Linked DNA regions of Homo sapiens: all the other regions are linked to region 1. The links are contacts of gene promoters, found by promoter capture Hi-C in blood cells and fetal thymus (Javierre and others, 2016). All regions are on one chromosome and are shown on one strand. The core of a region is centred on a gene start or on the middle of the fragment in contact, and the rest is flanking DNA. Distances in the headings are between cores, read along the strand shown. Region 1 holds the start of CD247 (CD247 molecule). Region 2 has its middle 9.3 kb from the start of POU2F1-DT. Region 3 overlaps POU2F1 (POU class 2 homeobox 1). Region 4 overlaps POU2F1 (POU class 2 homeobox 1).

Evidence for each region. Contacts are between HindIII fragments. The CHiCAGO score rates a contact against its expected background, and 5 or more counts as called.
Region 2: a fragment that was not itself captured here is called in contact with the fragment with the promoter of CD247 in region 1 in 1 of 17 cell types (fetal thymus); the score reaches 5.1 in fetal thymus.
Region 3: a contact is called between a fragment that was not itself captured here and the fragment with the promoter of CD247 in region 1, in 6 of 17 cell types (fetal thymus, naive CD4 T cells, naive B cells and 3 more). The highest score is 6.9, in fetal thymus.
Region 4: a fragment that was not itself captured here is called in contact with the fragment with the promoter of CD247 in region 1 in 6 of 17 cell types (naive CD4 T cells, fetal thymus, activated CD4 T cells and 3 more); the score reaches 7.1 in naive CD4 T cells.

Annotation. Positions count from the first base shown.
Region 1 is chr1:167,517,137-167,520,238 of GRCh38, reverse strand. CD247 (CD247 molecule) reads left to right here and starts at 1,710. Exons shown (of 8, transcript NM_198053.3): 1 at 1,710-1,831. The coding sequence starts at 1,774. It also overlaps the pseudogene AKR1D1P1. RefSeq lists enhancers at 1,879-3,078, 2,350-3,102. The HindIII fragment of the contact is 3,961 bases long and covers 152-3,102 here.
Region 2 is chr1:167,209,488-167,213,040 of GRCh38, reverse strand. No RefSeq gene overlaps it. Among named protein-coding and RNA genes, the nearest start is that of POU2F1-DT, 9.3 kb to the left of the region's middle. The HindIII fragment of the contact is 997 bases long and covers 1,755-2,751 here.
Region 3 is chr1:167,251,921-167,255,260 of GRCh38, reverse strand. The region is part of intron 1 of POU2F1 (POU class 2 homeobox 1); the gene reads right to left. It overlaps LOC124900412 (a long non-coding RNA gene), which reads right to left. Exons shown (of 2, transcript XR_007066718.1): 1 at 1-3,340. Among named protein-coding and RNA genes, the nearest start is that of POU2F1, 33 kb to the right of the region's middle. The HindIII fragment of the contact is 2,062 bases long and covers 260-2,321 here.
Region 4 is chr1:167,235,321-167,238,929 of GRCh38, reverse strand. The region is part of intron 1 of POU2F1 (POU class 2 homeobox 1); the gene reads right to left. Among named protein-coding and RNA genes, the nearest start is that of POU2F1, 16 kb to the right of the region's middle. The HindIII fragment of the contact is 535 bases long and covers 1,363-1,897 here.

The DNA.
Region 1 (3,102 bases), core at 461-2,960:
AGTTTTGGTTGGGTGTAATATGGGTGGCACTCAACCTCGTTGCTGACTGGCTTGGGTTTGAGTCCTGGGTTGTTCTGGATGAGCTCCAGCTGGCCTGCTGTTAAAACTGGATACTCCGAGGGATTTCACCAAGCCAGCATCTTTACAAGCTTCCGAAGTCTCCCAAGTGGCACACAGATTTGACTTGTGATATAACCATTTGCCATTCTCACCTATAGGGTAGATTTTGTCTTCTGGCTTAGCGGCCATGGGTATTTCAGTGATGTAAAGATCCACACAATCTAGCTGGAGGACCTTGAGCATCCTCTCTAGGCTCGGGCAGACCAGCTCTGGGTTGTGATTTGTAGCCCACAGTTTTCCACAGTAGAAGATATCCTTCCTCTGCACCTTTCCTTCTGCTATTTTCCCCCTGATGGCCTCCCCAGCTGTGTCTTCATTTTGGTATATGTAGGCTTCATCAGTGTGTCAGCACCCCAGACCAATGACAACCTTCACTGATGAAGACTCAGACTAAATGTAGAGACAGACTACTTGGGCTGTAGTGACATCTCTACCTACCACCTACTTGCTGTGTGGCCTTGAGTAAGTCATCGGCCCCCTTAGGGGTCAATTTAGGCTCTGAGTAGGTACCAAGTCTGATGATGGGAATGCTGTTTCCATCACTTAGAGGTATGCGGTGATTTGCAGGACTCACTTTCTTCATAGTGTCCTTTGATGCACAAAAACTTTTAATTGTGATGAAGTCCAATTTATCAATTTTATGTTGGATTGCTGTGACTTTGGATTATTGGCTATTCTTGTACATTAATTTTTTTCATATCAATTTTGGAATCAGCTTAACTTGTTCTAAAACTTTTTGTTGGTATTTTCAATGAAATAGATTGATTAATTAAGAGAGAATGGTGGTCTCCTTAAAAGAGAGCTTCCTATCAAAGAAGGGTATGCCTTTCCATTTACCCAAGTCCTTTCGGCGTTCTTCAGCAATGTTTTAAAGTTTGTTTCATATAGATATATTACAATTTTTAGACGAAGTTTATGTCTAGGTTTTAATGTTTTATTATTGTAAATTACTCTGGTGTTTAAATGTTGACAACTAACACAAGTGTTTAAAATACTATGTGAGCTACAGTATTTCACACAATGATCCAAATTCAGGCCAAGTTCAGATCTGCAACCTCAGATCTACTCCAGCTCTTTGCTTTATAGATAAGGAAGCTGAAGTCTAGAGATGTTGAGTGACTGACTCAACGCCACACAGCAAGTAGGTGGTAGGCAGAGATGTCACTAAAGCCCAAGGAATCTGTCTCTACATTTGTCCTGGACTCTAATCCAGGGTTCTGTCATTTTGCCAGCCACCATAAAATATTTGACAGTCTAGGAAAACAGCAAATGTTCTTACATCCATCGAGAACTTGTATTTGCCTAGAGATGGACTTTACCAATCAAGATAGGAATTAGATAAGAATTATTTTTTTTAAAAAAAGGAGCATTAAAACAATGGTCAAATGAGAGAAAAAGCAAAATTCAGACAGACAGATACATACACACACCCCAAACCCTCAAACCTCCAGGGCTTCCTGCCTGTGAACCGAAAGGGGGAGTGCGAATTTCTTGGCCCTGTCGGCAGGTGCTTTCTCAAAGGCCCCACAGTCCTCCACTTCCTGGGGAGGTAGCTGCAGAATAAAACCAGCAGAGACTCCTTTTCTCCTAACCGTCCCGGCCACCGCTGCCTCAGCCTCTGCCTCCCAGCCTCTTTCTGAGGGAAAGGACAAGATGAAGTGGAAGGCGCTTTTCACCGCGGCCATCCTGCAGGCACAGTTGCCGATTACAGGTAGGGCCGACGTGTCGACGGCAGGGAACTTCTAGAAACTCTTTGTGTATGTGTAGGGGAGTGGGTGTGGGTAGTGGAGGGTGGTGAGGGGCTGGGGTCTCCTTCAAATCCTGCCCTCCTCAAATCAATGGGCAAGTGAGCAGTGAGGGGTCCGGCCCGGTGCTGGCATCTGCTCCGTCACAGCCGAGTTGGGCATCAGTTCAGAGCCAGCTGCTAGAATACACAGCTCCTCCAGGTACAGATTTTTCGAGTGATAAGAGAGGAAGGAAGAAGGAAGCAAGAGAGCAACCGAGGCAGGCCCAGGGTAGAGAAACGGAGAGGGAGTGTTTCACAGAAGCTGGACAGGATCGGAAAATGTCAGCCAGGCCATGTTTCGTGCTGCGACGTTCTAGTCCCTTCAGCTTCTTTCACCCTCTGGCTGGCTCCGTCACTCAGCCCCTTTCTTTCTTCCTTTGCCAACAAAGAAGATTTTGTTGGTCAGTCAAGGTCATGGCCTGAAACACTCCAATGGGCCCGGGAGTAAGTGGGGTAACCAAGGAGGAGAGGGGCACAGGCAGGAAGCACCGGGTGGCAGCCTCCACAGCGCCTTCGCCACCTCATGGCCAAGCGTCCGTGTCTAGGCTCAGCCTTGTCATGGCTGTCCCCACACCCACGCCTGGGACTGCCGGGTGACGCACCATCCCAGGCTCCGTGACTCACCCCAGCCTGCCCCTTAGGCGGCCATCTAGCCCAGCCAGAGGGCCCGGCATTGACAGAACACGGGGCAGATGAGACGATGTGCCTGGTTAAGTCACCACCACGAGCAGCGCCCAGCCAACAAGAGTGCTTGCTCCTCACCTCATTCCCGATCGTGGGAGCCCAGCTTTGCTGCAAGCCTTTAGCTTCCACCATGTTTTCTAGCCCAGGTAATGAGGAAGAAAACCAGTGAAAAGAGGACAGGACAAACTGCTCAGGGGGATCAGCCTCGTGGCATCTTCCTGAGAAGTGGGGCAGGCTGAATTTCAATCTAAAGAAACAGGGAAGGTGAAGCAAGCAAATGTCCTCGGCCCACCTGATCGCTCCTGGTAACTCACCTGGGTGTGGGAATTTGTTTAGGGGCCCTGTTGGGAGGGCAGGAGAGGCCATGGGCACTTCTGCTCCCACCAGGGAGCCAGGCACAGCCCGGGCCAGCGCCTCGGGGGATTCTGAGGCCCGTGCAGCTGCAGGGGTTTCTGTCAGGTCACAGCTGTTTTCTCAGAAAAGCCTTGTGGGGTCTAAGTCACACACACAGT
Region 2 (3,553 bases), core at 1,004-3,503, 310 kb after region 1:
CATTTTAATATCTTTGACATCAAGATGCACCTTACAAAGGTTTGATAAGAAAGCACTGTATCATAGTTTAATTGGCAGCATTTTTTTGTTTTTGAGACAAGGTCTCATTCTGTCCCCCAGGCCAAGTGCAGTGGTGTGATCATGGCTCACTGCAGCCTCGACCTGCCGGGTTCAAGTGATCCTCCCACCTCAGCTTCCCAAATAGCTGGGACTACAGGGGTGTGCACTACCACACCCAGTTAATTTTTTATTTTTTGTAAACTCAGGGTCTTGCTATGTTGCCTAGGCTGCTCTCAGACTCTTAGACTCAAGCAATCCTCCTGCCTCGGCTTCCCAAAGTGTTGGGGTTTCAGGCGTGAGCCACCACGCTGGGCCTTGGCAGCATTTTCTAATGGTACATAAAATAATGGTGCATCTTACAATGACATTTTAAACTCTATGAAATGTAATGATTTTATACTGATAATTAAGGGTTATAAAGTTCATTCTATTATGTTTTGTTATCTGAGAAATGTTTAGTAATTCTGAGTGTGCTGGACTTTGTAAGGTAAGAAAAAAATATTTTTAAAGGATTTTCAATAATAAGGGTTAAAACTAAAGGAAAAGGACTTACAATGGCACAATAGTTTCACAAATCTAAACATTTCCTCTGCTCCAAATATTCAGCAAGACAGATGAAATAGAAAAAGAGAAAACCAAAAAGAAACAGACTCAAAAGCAATAATCATTTCCACAAACCAGGAAGAGCACATAAATGCAGACCAGGAGTAGGTTAGCTGCCTTGAGGCAGGCAGTGGTACTTGGAATTTTAGCACCACAAAGAGGTGCTAAAATGGGCTTGGAACTAGGCTCTGGGCTTGGAAGCATCCTGCCCTCTACACACAGGTACACACACTCTTTTTTTTTTTATTTTGGTAATTGGTAGATATTTTAATATCTACATATTACATAAATCAAAATTCAAAACTCAAACTATAGCATTTTATGATACAGAGAAATCTCATGTTTACTCCAGTCTCACTTTCCCTCTTCTTTAGGAAATCATTTTTATTGGTTTGTTGTGTATTCTTCCAATGGCTCTTCTCGCAACTATATATATTCTTATTTCTCTTCCTTTTTTTTTTTTTTGAGACAGGATCTCTCTATGATGTTGCCCAAGCTGGAGTGCAGTGGCTATTCACATTCACAGGCGCAATCATAGCTCACTGCAGCCCAAACTCCTGGGCTCAAGTGATTCTCCTACCTCAGCCTCCCAAGTAGCTGGGACCACAGGCATGTGGTGTCTCTCGCTTTCTTAAAAGGATAGCATACCCTTTTACACAAAAGATAGCACACCATATGCACTGTTCTATACCTTGCTTTTGTCGCTTAACTGTATGTACAGAAGATTGTTCCATATCAGGACATGGAGATTTTACTTTCTTTTTTATAGCTCTGTGTAGTTCATTGTGTGCGTGAACCGTGGTTTACTCGAGTCCTCTCTTGCTGTACACATGCTATTTACAGATAAATGTTCTCTGTTACTCTCAATATCACAATGAACAGCCTTGTACCTATGTCATTTCACACTCCCACACAGTTTTGTAAATGGAGGCTGAGTAAAATTGTGGCCTAACTTCTGCCTGGGGCTACAGCTTTATAGGATGTTGAAGATTTAGCCAAGTAGGAAGACAAAGACACAGTCTTACAACCAGGAAGTCAGTAAAACCACCCGCTGGATCATTCTCCTAAGATCTAGTTATAGATTAGAAGCTTGAGAAGTAGGGTGGAAGTAAATGTAAAACTAGTAAACAGGCCGGGTGCAGTGGCTCACACCTGAAATTCCAGCACTTTGGGAGGCCGAGGCGGGCGGACCACCTGATATCAGGAGCGCCAGGAGTGGTCAGGAGACCAGCGTGGCTGACATGGCGAAACCCCATTTCTACTAAAAATACAAAAAGTAGCTGGGCATGGTGGCATGCACCTGTAATTCCAGCTACTTGGGAGGCCGAGGCAGGAGAATTGCTTGAACCCAGGAGGCGGAGGTTGCACTGAGCTGAGATTGCACCACGGCACTCTAGCCTGGGCGGCAAAGCGAGACTCCATCTCAAAAAAAAAAACCAAAAAACAAAACAAAACTAGTAAACAACAAATAAGAGAAAGAGGCTTCAAAACAAATATATACATTGGATGGATATAAATATATATTTCAAAAACGAAATACATGTGTTTATATATTAATATGTTATATTTAATTTAAATATTAAATAAATGGGGAATTACATTTGTATTTAATTTATGTTTAAGTTATGTTTAACTTATATTAAGACAATTTATCCTTTATGGAGGCACATGCCACCATACCCAGACAATTATTTTATTTTGTAGAGATGAAGTCTCACTATGTTGCCCAGGCTGGTCTCAATCTCCTGGACTCCAGCAGTCCTCCTGCCTCAGCCTCTCGAAGTGCTGGGAGTACAAGCATGAGCCACCACACCCAGTAATTTATCCAATTTGGCACCTAATCCATCAGGGCATCTGCCAGCTGTGCCCAAGGCCAGAGCATATCCGCTGAATTTCTGCCCACTTCATGAAATTTTCTAGGGGACATAGGGGTACAAGGAGCTTTAATAATCCTCTGACAAAGTTGAATGAACAAAAGAGCAAGAGAGAACAATCTGCCCCATTCTGGCAAATTGAGGACTGCAGTGCTTTGTGAGAGGCATCAGAAGCACCAATCAAAAGCACTAGCAGTGCTTGGAAAGGGAAGCTTAAGTAGACGAAGGAGTGTAAAATGAGGATGCCATGGGTAACTGATCACACCTATTGAGGAGGGAATAGAGTTATGATAATGGTTATGTGTGGGTACTGGCATCAGCCACACCCAGGATTGATCCCAGGCTTGCCTCTCACTGACTGTTTAACCTCACACGAAGATCTTGAAAGCCCCTGTACACTAGGGTCCTCCCCTGTAAGATGGGGATTGCAGTGCTTTCTTAGTGCTCCCTGTATTGTGTGTACTGATAGGATTTTGTGAGATACTTCTGAGATCTCACCAGAAATACCCACAGAAACCAGTCCTACATGTAGGCAGGGCAAGAGCCAGACACAAAAGCCACACAAGTCAGCATCTTGAGCAAAAGAAATAATAGGGAGAATGCAAACTGAGGTTTATTGAGCTATTATTCTTTTATTTCACTTTAGTTCCACAAATATCATTATTCAGAGATAAAAACCCTAAGTCCTTCCTGCAAGACAATCTGAGTCTACTGAGCATTCACCAGTGTGGGTAAAGTGCACATTGTGAAGTACGTGTAGATCAGGGGAGCTCAGAGCAGATGCATCTAACTCCTAACTCAGACAGGAATCAGTGGCCAGGAGTTGTTCAGAGCCGGGAGGATGAAGGCAAAGGAGGAGCCTTGGACAGCCACTAGCTTTTTGGGTGGGTGACTGGGGATCCCTTAGAAAGACAAGACATACAAGAGGGAGGTCATGGTTGGAGGTGAGGACCTGAAGACTGTTTGAGTGTAGGACCACTGCTTTCAAATAGAGGGGATGTAGGGTACAGGAAAGG
Region 3 (3,340 bases), core at 41-2,540, 260 kb after region 1:
CTAGTAGGACTTCTTGCTTTGTGCCCACACTATACCAACAGTTTCTCTTACAGCATCTATGAAACTTTACTGCATTTACCTATTTTGAGTACCTATTGAATGAGACTTGTTTTATTCCTATGGTACTCAAAAGCAAACGTGCATTAGAGTCATTTGAAAAGCTCTGTAAAAATACAGATGCCTGAACTTACACCACACCAAATATACCAAACAAGAATCTCCTAGATTTGGGGCCAGGCACGTACACTGTGAAAAAGCTTCACAAACAGATGATAATCTGCCTAAGAAAACCAATTCCCACTAAATATATCCAGCACTTCAAATTGTTCCTGGCAGTAGAAAAACAATAAATGTTGTAGAATGAATAAATAGGCAAATGAATAGTAAGTCTTACATATTGCTATTAATGATAGTCAACAAAAATCACCTAATGGAAGAAAATGAATGCTAACACACCATTTTTGAGCATTCTAGCTAAATATTTTTTCAAGACACTGGGGTAGAGGGATAGAGAAACGAACAAATGAAGAAATTACCTGAATCACCTTTTTCTCTGATAATGAGAACTAAACATTATCCTGTAAGTTCAACTGCTAAAGCCAGGGATAATAAATGTTTCTGATTATAGCATCAAGATACTCTATGGTTATGAGTCAGACTCTGAATAGTACTTGCTGATTGTTAACAATGAGTAAAATTAATACTGCCTTTTGCATGAACATTTTATGCAGTAAGAATTAAGATACATGTGAAACATGACTATGACATGAATTAAACTTAGGCAAGACACAAAGAAACAGAATTATCCCTACATCAAAATTCAATTTAATGAATATTTTCTGCCCACCTTCAGGGCCAGACACTAGTTTAGTTGTACTAGTAAGGTGAACAAGAGGCAAGTGGCTAGCCTCAGGATGCTAAGAAACAAATATTAATATATTGCAGCTAAAGCACATTAGTAACATTGATCGAACCTACATTAAATAGAATTGAGACTCCCAAATGTTTTATATGTATTCCATCATAACCTTTAAGTCAGACTAATATTATTATTTTACAAAGATTTTTTAAAAGAAACCGAGGCATTTGCCTGGTTTGAAAGAGCACTATCCAAAGTTTTCCTCTTCAAAAACTGTATAAAGTGTGAACAGGCTTTAAAAAAGAAAAAGTGCCAGTGAAGCAATTTAATTCACCATATAATACAGGAGTCTGAAATATTTTGCCCAAGGACCCAACCCAGCCAAAAGAGCTTCCATTCTACACTCTAGTCAAAAAACAAACCAATAAAAATTCCTAGATGGAGCTAAAGTCTGGGTATTCCTGAAGTTGCCTCTTTATCCTACCTGTATTAGAAAAGCAAGGAGCAAATAGAAAAAAATGAAATACGTATTAGAGGAGACATAAAAACTTTCCCTCAGCCAACATTTCTATTCTTTTCTCCACAGAGACAGGCAAACCTGGCACCAAATTAAAATGGGGTATGGGGGAAGGAGGACCTAAGATAAACTTTCTTTCTTAAAAAATAAAAAATTCTGGCTGGACGTGGTGGCTCAGGCTTATAATCCCAGCACTTTGGGAGGTCAAGGCCGGCGGATCACTTGAGCTCAAGAATTTGAGACCAGCCTGGGCAACATGGTGAAACCCTGTCTCTACCAAAAATACAAAAAATTAACCAGGCGTGGTGGCAGGCACCTGTGGTCCCAGCTATTCAGGAGGCTGAGGTGGGAAGATCGCCTGAGCCTGAGAGGCACAGGTTGCAGTGAGCCAAGATAGCACCACTGCACTCCAGCCCGGGTGACAGAGTAAGACCAAAAAAACCCAAAAAACCCATTAACCAATTATAATCCCAAGTTCCACTCTCCTGTGTGTTTGGGGGGGGGGGGGCAGAAAAATAAAGAATGAAACAGAATAGTAGGAAAAAATGACATCTTGTTCTACAAGAGAGTTAGTAAATGATTACAGGATTCACAGAGGCTCCAAGTTTTGTTTCTGACCCTGAAGTACAAACTCTTGGGCTGATGAAAGATAAAAACATAATTCAAACCATTAAAAGCAAGAGCAGTAGGCTTTTCTTTGAAGTGAAACTTTTGCCCTCTTAAGTGAAACTGTCCCTTGATAATTAGGTTTATCCAAGTTTCACAAGTATTTCAACAGTAAATTCATCATAGCATGCTCTTTGGGCCATCTCATTTTAAAATATGCATTGTAATGAACACATATGGTGATAAAAGAAGGCCATTTTTTAAGAACCCAAGGGTCCAATTAGATTATGTAAATCTGAATTAGATGTACACATCAATCAGTCAACAGTGTTCAAAGCTTCTGGCAAAATGGCGGTCAGCACAGTCTTTGGGCATAGAAATAACAGAAATGCTACCTTAGAGGGATACATGTTTTCTTCCCAGTGTCATTACACATAAGATCAAAAGCTATAAACTAGTCATCCATGTTAACCTGTTATAAACAAGAAGTTATCACAGTCAGTTACGTATTCTTAAAATAATTTAAAGATTTTCTAATGACCAGAATTACTTTAATTCATTTCACTGCTGTAGGACAGTTATGAACATTCTTTGGTTTGGAGTTTGCAACAAAGTAAAAAGCCAGATATAATAAAAGCTGCACCTTAACTATATAATTATTCAGAATATAGATATTAATTGGTTTGTGTTCTCAAATTACCAACAATGGAGTTTAATAGGGCGCTGGTTCCCCTTCAGTGAGAAAAATAAAAAATTAACATTAAAAACAGATTCAGGCCGGGCGCGGTGGCTCACGCATGTAATCTCAGCACTTTAAAATATTTCAAATAAGTATTTTAGTGGTGACTGCTGTTTTGTAGGCACAAACTACAAAGAACTACAAACATACGTGCTTCTCCTTCTTCACATGAAACCTGGACTGTTGGTCAAATATACTCTCTGTTGGTCTGTTCAGATAATCCTAATAGCAAATAGCATGGCCTTCATTTGTAAAAGCGTCTTAAAGGGATTCTGTTATAAGTTAAAAGGTAAGGAAACACATTTTAAAACATGGGGAAAACTCCAAGACCTCAGAAAAGAAATACATTTGATTTAAATAATCAGGATATGAAGAAGAGACTTGCAGCGGTGGCTCACACCTGTAATCCTAGCACTTTGGGAGGCCGAGGCAGGTGGATTACTTGAGGTCAGGCATTCCAGACCAGCCTGGCCAAAATGGTGAAACCCGGTCTCTACTAAAACTATATATATATATATATATACAAAATTAGCCAAGCATGGTGGCATGCACCTGTAATCCCAGCTACTCGGGAGGCTGAGGCAGGAGAATTGCTTGAACCTGGGAGGCAGAGGTTGCA
Region 4 (3,609 bases), core at 381-2,880, 280 kb after region 1:
TTAGGGCAAAGTACACTCTAGCCACCCATCTGAGTAGCCAACTAGTCTCCCTGAACAACATGAAAATCTTATCACTCTACCTTCAATGATGTGCACCAACAAATGTAATTTCAAACCCAATGCAACCCAGTATTTACTCTGAAAACATTTCTTGATAACCTACCCTATGCCAGTAACCTTGTACTAACTGTGAACAAAACAGGTATTTATGGAAGATTGCCTAAAGAATATGCAGTATCTCCATTCTTCTAATTATTCCAAAATCTTTTCCCTTTTTAAGTCAGACCATTTTGAATAGTCCTCACTCAATATCCTCATCTCCCACCAATTAACTGCCTTAATGAAGGTGCTCTGGTATGATGCATTTGGCCTATACAGGGGCATTCTGAAATTTGTTGGTGTGTCCACAGTAGGAAGACTGTTGAGGGCACTGTTTATTACATTACATAGGGTCCTGTTTATAAGGCCTCTGAAGAGAAGTTTCCTTCTGATCTTAGTACCAGGAATTGTTGTGCTTTTCTTAAAAGTTTGTTTGTTTTCAAATTTTATGGGCATAAATTGACCAAGTTTTCCTTGTTTGCATCATCTACTAAGAAGTTTACAGAGTATTTGGGCCCCACCGGAAATAAATATTAGATTTTTATATTAGGTCTTTTATATTTTTATTTTGCATTTCTTGCCATACAGTTGATAAATCTCTATAAACCAACTTGAGAGACAAAATGAAACAAATAAATAAATGGATAAAATTTACATTAATGCATCTCAAAAAAATTTTTTAATTTAAGGGATCAGAAAAAAGGTCACATGAGAAATCAAGGGCTTACTCAAGAAATTAAGAATATATGGGCTGGGCATGGTGGCTCACACCTGTAATCCCGGCACTTTGGGAGACCAAGGCGGGCAGATCACTTCAGGTCAGGAGTTAGAGACCAGCCTGGCCAACACAGTGAAACCCCATCTGTACTAAGAATACAAAAAAATTAGCCGGGTGCGGTGGCACGCACTTGTAATCCCAGCTACTCGGGAGGCTGAAGCAGGAGAATCGCTTGAACCCTGGAGGTGGAAGCTGAAGTGAGCCGAGATCACGCCACTGCACTCCTGCCTGGGCGACAGAGCAACACTCTGCCAAAAAAAAAAAAAAAAAAAAAAAAAAATATATATATATATATATATATATATACACACACACATATATGGATTTAAAAAATAAAACCAGTAACTCAATTAACTGGAGGAACAGGGGAAGAGGAATTAAGGACAAAAGGGGAAAGAAAAATTAAAGAATACCCCCAAATAATGTATTTGTAGAAATCAGACAAATGGTAGTACAAAATGACTTTGTGTAAACCTAGTCAAGCTTACCATGTAAGTCACAAAATATTTACAAACATTTCTTATTCCACAGACATCACTCAAAATGGTAAAAATAACATACCGGCAGATGAAAAAGAAAATACAAAAATTACTTGATAAAAATGGCCAAAGGGTACCGGAAAAACAACAAACAAGACCAACAGGGCTGTTACTGTAACCTGTTTCTTTTCTGAGCTCTTTCCTCATCCATCCCAAATAGTAGGACAAAAACTTATGCATGCAACAATATGAATCTATTAACTTCTCAACATTCTAAATAACCCAGCAGAAAGTCTAGGTAGGCGTTTACACTCCCCAACACGCATAAGTATGTTCTCGTTAGATAGCCTCTCTCCTTCAAGGTCACTGTCATCTTTTCTCACCACTGACAGACTTTACAATGCTGTCACTGCTGTATGTTAACCCTAGTTCACAAGTATCATCACCATCAAGCCATCTCTACTCAGAAGTTAGATACCTTCCTCCTTATTGTCAGCTTCCTTAAATTTCTTGCTCCCCAAGTCCCAGAGAACTCCAAGCTTGCTAGGAGGTTAGGTGAAATCCAGCACTGAAAATATTTCAGGATTAGTCTTATCATTTCCAAGCCCTTGTGTAGGAAATAGACCCCTAGACTGCTAAAACTCTATTATCTTTCCATTTCTCCTTTATCCCTACCTCCCATATATTTGACTTAAAAATTAAAATTGCCTTTAGAGAAAGCAGAGTAAAAAAAATATGCTCACTCCAGTTCTCTGCTAAGAGAAACATTTTTGTCCAAGAGTAGGGTATGACTCTCCAGGACCACAGTGCCACAGCTGACCCATCCCTGCCCAGACTCTGCAACCATCCCCTTTCTATAAATGAACAGCTAATAGTGGGATGCAAGTAAAGCATGTGACTAACAGGTAGACTGATCCAAGCTCCACCTGCATCCCTAAGCTACTTCTCCAAAGAGGTATAGGAATTAGCTGCGGGGAAGGAGGTGGGGCAGGCACACGTCGAAAGAGAATATTTAAGAAGTCATAAATTTTCAGGAAAACTACAAGTATTCTGAAACGGCCAAAACAGGAAAAATAAATCATTGTTGTACATTTGAAAACTAATGATAAAAGATTTTATATTTAATAAAATTTAGTAAGATTTAATTTAATAAAAATTTAATAAGAAGATGTCGGCCGGGCGCGGTGGCTCATGTCTGTAATCCCAGCACTTTGGGAGGCCAAGGCAGGTGGATCATGAGGTCAGGAGTTCAACACCTGCCTGGCCAAGATGGTGAAACTCCATCTCTACTAAAAATACAAAAATTGGCCAGGCATGGTGGCAGGCGCCTGTAATCCCAGCTCCTCAGGAGGCTGAGGCAGAGAATTGCTTGAACCTGGGAGGTGGAGGCTGCAGGGAGCCGAGATCACACCACTGCACTCCAGCCTGGGAGACAGAGCAATCGTCTGTCTAAAAAAAAAAAGATGTCCAAATTAGAGTAAAAACATTAAAATTAAAGCAATGAAGTGTTTTTCATCAACCTAGGAAAAATTTAAAAGACTAATAGTTAACAGTGCAGGAGAAACTGACACTATTAAATACTGTAGATAAAAAATATAGAGTGGTACTAAAAGCAACCTGACGACATGTACAAAATTTTTAAGTGTGTATATTCTGTTAAAGAAAGTTTATGGGAGACTACTATTTTGGACTAGCCTCCTCCACTAGGTCTCAGCAGAACAGACCAAACCAGTCTTTGGTTTTCTGTTCCTGCATTAATTCACTTAGGATTATGGCTTCTGGCTCCATCCAAGTTACTGCAAAGAATATGATTTCATTAAAATGTTTATCTTATTTAAATGAGTGAACTAAAGAATAGAGAGCAATGGGGGAAAAACAGCAAGTATATAATAGGATATGCACTATGACTCCTTTTTTAAAAATTATGTGTACATGCATGACAGGAGCATGCACACCTAAGCGTGGACATCTGTCTGCAATACATAGGAACAAATCCCAGGAAATGGGCTCAATCACCAAACCAGTCTCGTACTGGTCCTGATGGCATTATGTAACTACTAAGATGTGATTCCAACAGCATAAGCCGGCAATGGCTTTGCCCCTATAGTCTAATCGCCTGAAATCATACTTTCCAGCAACACTCATAAATTGTTAATTCATCTTCTCAGACTATTGTGATGTTGAACATGTCTCTCATAACATAAGAGCATTTTCACCAATTCCTTTCTAACTAATGATGATTGGCATATAAGT